Linked DNA regions of Homo sapiens: region 2 is linked to region 1. Evidence: promoter capture Hi-C in 16 types of primary human blood cells and fetal thymus (Javierre and others, 2016). All regions are on one chromosome and are shown on one strand. The core of a region is centred on a gene start or on the middle of the fragment in contact, and the rest is flanking DNA. Distances in the headings are between cores, read along the strand shown. Region 1 holds the start of YAE1-DT (YAE1 divergent transcript). Region 2 overlaps VPS41 (VPS41 subunit of HOPS complex).

Region 1 (3,198 bases), core at 142-2,641:
TCCTTTAGAATATAAAATATTATACCATTGAAGAGTTTGGATGTGTAACCTGTGATGCCTTAGAAAAATATCCTAAGCACAAAATAAACTTTTCTAATCACTTCAAAAGATTAAAAAAACCAAAAAACAAAAAACAAAACCCAGCATTAGCAATGTCTTCACAAAAAGGATATATGGAAAATTACACATCTGGGCTCTTGCCAACTGATTGGAATGGTGTGGGTGGGTGAGGAGACAGGGCAAAGCAGAGAGAGGAAATTGTTTAAAAAAAAAAGGATGATGAGAAGTCTGGTTTCAGAAATTTTGCATAATACCTAAATTCAACTAACCTGCAAAAGCTCTGTGGGTAGTGATTTCGTTCTGCATCTCTCACGGTGCCACAGCATTTAAAAGATGCTCAATACTTATTAGTGTGGCCCCAGTCTCACATAAAGCATTTTTGTAATTGACAACATGGTTTTTGGGCTAAGCAAATACCACTCTACTGAAATATTAAACAGGGCAGATTCCCAACTGCAGCTTTAGCGGCAATTTAATGGTTGGCAAATATATTAAGTGGATGTGGACCTCACTATTTGGTCCTCACCCAGAAATACTGTAGGCTGCACACAGAAATTAAGCTTAGTTTCAATGAATAGTGAGACAAATTAGAGATGAAAAAGTTACATCTAACAAATAAAAAAGAAACCAACTTTAATATTCCCTTACCTAGACACCAGTATTCCACATTAGCTTTCCCTTATTGTCCTCTGACAGCATGCTTTAGTTCATCTTTTCAATATGTCTTGATTAACACTACTCCTTAACTTTAGGCTCCCTACCCATTCAAGCCACCCATATAAACTGCGTACACGTCCTTTGACAGCCATAATAAGTATAGTGTATGTTTCTCTCCAGCTCCTTTCCCTGTGATCCTCAACAAACTGCAAACTGTTCAAAGTCTACACATAGTTAATTTTGGTCGGTCCTCAGTTTCTAACGCATCCCGTAGGCGCTCAAAGAATGCGTCTTGTTGTTTTACACGCTTTCAAGTAACCATCGAGAAATCCTAGCAAGACGCGGGTCGGACCGGGTCCCTAGGGATAAAGAGAGCAGCGCCGGGCCAGGCTGGGGCCACTCTGGACCCAGCTTCTTCACAACTCCGCGCCTCTTCCCACAACCCAGCACCCCGCGCCGTCCACACCACGTTTACTTTGACTCGTCTTTGCATGTTACTCTGCCATTCCCGCTGCGCCAGGAGCGACTCGTCTGCTTCTTCGTCAAACACGTCCCCTTTGTCTCCAGGGCCCTGGATCAAGGAGGCTGCTTGAACCCACGACATCACCGAGGCAATTACGGGGTCGCAGGCCACCGGAAGCGCCAACAACTCCTTCCGGTCCGAAGGCGGGGCGAAGACGGCGAGTGGAGGCTCGGGAGGGGCTGCGTGTGCGCGGAGGCGGGCTGTGGCCCGTGGCCGCCGCCGGAGCCTTTCGCTTGCGGTGATTTTGGGCTCCCTCGGTTGGCAGTGTTGATGTGTGCCTGTGAGTTGTGAGCGAGGCAGATTTCCTCGCGTGGCCGGCACGACCTTCACCTTTGCAGAAGGCAACCGGGACCCTCAGTGAGACACCTTCCATTTCCACCGTAGTCTTACCATGGTCTGGGTTTTACATTCGCGCGCTTTGGTAAACTATTAAAGGTAGTAAAGTCGATGGGCGATTACCACCCAAATACTTTGTCTCTTTTGGAATCTCCTCTGCATTTAAAGGATTTGACAAGCCGACATTTTAAACTGTTAGGATTGTGGAGTAAAGGAAAATAGGATCGAAAAGCGAGGTACTGTAGCCAATTTGAGATTAGTAAGAAATATAGAGTACATTTGTAAAGCCAATATATTTTTTCATTGATTCACGATATCCTTCTGCCTCCCATTCCTGTTCATATGCCCTAAAGTAAACAGTTGGTTTGGTAAGGGTGGGGACTTGTGTCAACACCAGGACAGTTCTGACACATAGTAAATGCTGAACTCTATTTTGGTGAATGAATGAATACCTGTAGTATTCCTGTTTTGCCCTTTGCCTGGGTAAAATGAGTCATGTGATTATGATTTATTTATCTAACAATTTATTGAACACCTACCTTGTGTCAGGTACCATTCCAGGCTTTGGGATACATCAATGAACAGACGGAAGTTCCCAACCCTTGTCGACTTTATAGTCATGTAAAATTGACAGGATAAACAATAAGCAATATATAAGTAGCATAAGGTTTGTTAGAAGATCATAAATAAATGCTATGAAAAAAATTTTTAAATAAGCACAGTAAGAACCATAAGTGTGTGGGAGTGGGTGGTTGGTTCATGTTACAATTTTAAATCTCCAGAGAGAATTTGGCATCCCACAAATAAAAAATATATAAACTACAAATATGTATATTTTATTAATGTAAATATATTAAGATATATGTATATATCTTTATTAGGAACAAAATGGTAGTAAGCAATAAAGATAACAATAAAATAGAAAACCTCAAAACTTGAATAAGTAAGTCCAATTCTTTTTTGTATTATTTGAAAACACCAATAAGATAGATAATCCTGTCATGACCCAGATTTTTAAAGAGAACAAAATTATACAAGAATGAGAAATGAGATAACCACTGATGCAGAAGGAGATTAAAATATTAATTACCAACTAAAACTCAAAAGCAACACATTCGAAAACCTGAGAGATATGAATGACTTTCTAAGAAAATTGACCCAAGAAGTAGGGTCATGAAGAGACTAATTACCATAGAAAAATTGGACATTAAATATCTACTATTAAAAATGTCATGGAGACTTGGGAGTTTCACATTAAGTCCTTTGCAATCTTTAAGGAATGATGGAGTCTTAAACTATTTTTACCATTTTAGGGGAGAGAAAAAGAAGAAACTCCTTAAATCATTTCATGAAGCCAGCCTTACTGTAACTTCATAAAGATAGTACCAGAAAAACCCCAAAGTTCAAGTTAGCTTGTGAATATATATCCAAAAGAGAATCTAGTAGGTTGGTGCAAAATTAATTGGGGTTTACTTTTGCACCAACCTGGTAGTACTTTATCAAAAGAATAATTTAAGAGGTTTTGTACCAGGAAAGCAAACTTTTGCAATATTAGGACATCAATAATATTTCATTGCATTGACTATTTTTTTTTTTTTTAAAACAGCGTCTTGCTCTGTCAC
Region 2 (3,531 bases), core at 103-2,602, 810 kb after region 1:
TATTATTAATGGTCTAGGGGCTACTGTGAGCTGCTGGTATTGGGGTAGAAATCTTTACAGACTATTTTATCTTATATAGTCTTAAGAAAACAGGGCTGTCACGGTGGCTCACATCTGTAATCCCAGCACTTTGAGAGGCCAAGGTGGGAGGATTGCTTGAGCCCAGGAGTTCAAAACCAGCCTGGGTAACATAGTGAGACCTGTCTATAAAAAACTAAAAATTAGCTGAGTGCTGTGACATATGCCTGTACTCTCAGCTATTCAGGAGGCTGAGGTGGGAGGATCACTTGACCCTAGAGGCTGAGGCTGCAGTGAGCTGTGATCATGCTACTGCACTCCAGCTTAGGTGACGGAGTGGGACCCTTTCTCACAAAAAGAAAGAAAGAGGCTGTGTGTGGTGGCTCACCCCTGTAATCCCAGCACTTTGGGAGGCTGTGGGAGGCTGAGGCGGGCGGATCACAAGGTCAGGAGATGGAGACCATCCTGGCCAACATGGTTAAACCCCGTCTCTACTAAAAAAAAAAAAAATACAAAAATTAACCAGGCATGGTGGCATGCACCTGTAGTCCCAGCTATTTGGGAGGCTGAAGCGAGAGACTTGCTTGAGCCTAGGAGGCGGAGGTTGCAGTGAGCCAAGATAGCGCCACTGAACTCCAGCCTGGGCGACAGAGCGAAACACCACCTGAAAAAAAAAAAAAAAAAAAAAAAAAAAAAAGAGAGGAAGAGAGAGAGAGAAAAACAAAGAAAGAGGGAGAGAGAGAGAAAGAAAAGGAAGGGAGGGAGGGAAGAAAGGAAGGACAAGGAAGGAAAGACAAGGAAAGGGAAACAGAGAAGGAAGAAAAGAAAGAAACTTGATCTGAAATATTATTTTGGTTCTACAAACATTTTAATGTTCTGATTGAATCCATTCCCAAATTTCTGAAGTAAAATTTCAATCATATTAATATATAAGAAGTTTGTAATCTAAATGGAAAATATGTGGTCTTTTGTTCTGGTCTCTTGCCATCCTTCCAGGGGCTACTTTGGTAGAAATCGGGTGGAACTTTAATGAAAACTATATTACTGATTCTTTTGCACTTTTCTTACCAAATCCTGGTGCATTACAGAAGCAGCTTCTATCACATTGTTTTCATTTCTAAGTATTATTTAAACAAATTCACAGTAGTTCATTAAAGTATTAATGGAGTTATTTAATAGTAATAATGTACTATTTTTTATATAAACCAAAAAGTGACTGAGACAGATCTCAATCGACTTTAAGGTTTATTTTGCCAAGGTTAGGGACATACTTGGGGAAAAGAAACAGGGTCTGTGTCCTGTGCTTTTTCCAAAGAGATTGTTGAGGACTTCAAAATTTAAAGGGGAAAGAGCAAGCAGGAGGCAAAGGAGCAAATTTTAAAAATAAATAAATAAATAAGTAGGGGGAGAGTAAGCAATGAGGCACTTGGTCACATTCCAGTGATGCTCTGATTAGCTCAGGAAATCTACGTTTTACATGTAAAAAGAGAGAAGTGGGGAAAAAGTCAATTATGCATTCATCTCTTGCTCAGTAGATCTAGCTTTGACATGAGCTAAAGGAAGCATGTGAAATGACAGCTCTCTGTTTGGGAACAAAAGGAAGGCAATTTTTGCATGACTCAGTTCCCTTAACTTTCCCTTTGGCTTAGTGAATTGGAGGTCCTGAGAATTTATTTTCCTTTCACATTTAATAACGTGGATGTTTTTAATTCTCTTTACTGTCTTATGAACATGTTTTTGTTCTAAACATTGTCAAGGATCAGTAAGTAAACTGCTCTGTCATACTTTGAGTTATAAAACATGAAGTCTAAAGTCGGGAATCAGGGAGTAGAGACTGAGCAAGATACTGGCCCAGAATCAGCTGTGGGACGGAAACAGGATCAAATCGGGGAACCACAAAATTTGAGATCTAGAGATAGCCAGGATAAGAGCCAGGGGATAAGACTTGAGCCAAAGTCTCAAATTCCAACATAAAACTGGCATTAGAAGCCAAAGTGGAAGGAGGACCAAGATGGTGACTTGTTAAAGATATAGAATGCTGGACAGTTTCACTGTGGGAGCAGCCCTGTCCCAAGCAGACTGCCACGGTCAGTTGTGCTGGCTATACAGTGCACAACTGCATAACCAGTTGCACCCAGCAGCCCAGGCCTAAGTGCATTAGAGGACTCTTGGTGGTGGGGAAAGTAGCTGACTTGGGTAATATCTGTAAGCTGTTAAAGCTGTCATCCAAATGTTACAGTTAGTCCAGAATGGGGATGGGGCAAGTCCAACCTAAACTCTTGTCCATGCACTTTATAGAAGGAACAAGATAGCTTTCTTAGTTGTACATTTCGTAAAACTAAGGACAGAAGTAGATGGCACGACCTGCCTCCCAGGAATGCTAAATGGAGATTTATTGTACAATAATATTCCCTGCAACTCTTCACCACACCCAGACCCATAGTCTGAAAATTGATGAAATATTTATTGAACAAACTTTTAATCATATAATTGTTTGGTCTGTTATGTGACTAAAAGTGAATACTTTTAGGGATGGTTTAAATTGTTTGGTTTGTTTTGAGAATTTAGGAGAAACCAAACTCAGTTTCTCATGCTATACTCTCACAACACAACACTTCTGTGACCAAATATCTGGGTTTTTCCGCTACACACCAAGAAAGCAATTAGTTCTGCAGTGGACACCAGCTGGATGTCCTCTAATTCAGTTCATTCTGACACTGTCTACATGAAGATAGCATCAGTTCCTGCAGGCTGAGGGCTCAGGCCCACAAGACTGCCCCCACTTCAGACATACCAATCACAAGTTATAGGCTGTCACCTGTACTTCCGACTGGTCAACTATAAACTGGAATTCCCACTACCACCTCCTTAGATTTGACTCATTTGCTAGAGCAGCTCATAGAACTCAGGGGAACACTTTACTTACATTTACTGGTTTATTATAAAGAATATTGCAAAGGATACAGATGAACAGCCAAATGGATTAGATGCAGAGGGCAAGGTATGTGGGAAGAGGCATGGAGCTTCCAGGTCCTCTTTGGGTGCACCACCCTCCAGGAACCTCCAGGTGTTCAGCTCTTGGGGAGCCCTCCAAAGCCACTCCTTTTGGGTTTTAATGAAAGCTTCATTACTTAGACATGATTGATTTAAACACTGGGCCATTGGTGATCGGTGTAACCTTCAGCCCCTCTCCCCTCCTTGGAGGTTGTGGGGCAGGGGTGGGGGTAGGGCTGAAAAGTTCCAACCCTTTAATCCTGTCTCAGTCTATCCTGTGCCCAACCCCATCCTTAAGTTACCTAGGGGCTGCTAGCCACCAGTCAGCTCATTAGCATACAAGAAGACACATCATTTTAGAGATTCTAAGGATTTTGAGAGTTATATGCCAGGAAACAGAAGGAGGACCAAATGTATATTTCACAATATCACAACTATTATTCTGTTGAATGAGTGTTCTTTTTCTGTTTTTCACCTTTGGTTAGGGTTTTGCCACATTGATCCGAGAATGGCCTGGAG

Evidence for each region. Contacts are between HindIII fragments. The CHiCAGO score rates a contact against its expected background, and 5 or more counts as called.
Region 2: a contact is called between a fragment that was not itself captured here and the fragment with the promoter of YAE1-DT in region 1, in 3 of 17 cell types (M1 macrophages, M2 macrophages and megakaryocytes). The highest score is 7.9, in M1 macrophages.

What each region holds. Positions count from the first base shown.
Region 1 is chr7:39,564,542-39,567,739 of GRCh38, reverse strand. YAE1-DT (YAE1 divergent transcript) reads left to right here and starts at 1,391. Exons shown (of 3, transcript NR_187579.1): 1 at 1,391-1,597. It overlaps YAE1 (YAE1 maturation factor of ABCE1), which reads right to left and starts at 1,336. Exons shown (of 3, transcript NM_020192.5): 1 at 1,193-1,336. The coding sequence starts at 1,321. It also overlaps the pseudogene TMX1P1. RefSeq lists an enhancer at 1,050-1,499. The HindIII fragment of the contact is 5,827 bases long and covers 623-3,198 here.
Region 2 is chr7:38,758,448-38,761,978 of GRCh38, reverse strand. VPS41 (VPS41 subunit of HOPS complex) reads left to right here. Exons shown (of 29, transcript NM_014396.4): 18 at 3,498-3,531. Among named protein-coding and RNA genes, the nearest start is that of AMPH, 130 kb to the right of the region's middle. The HindIII fragment of the contact is 3,581 bases long and covers 1-3,142 here.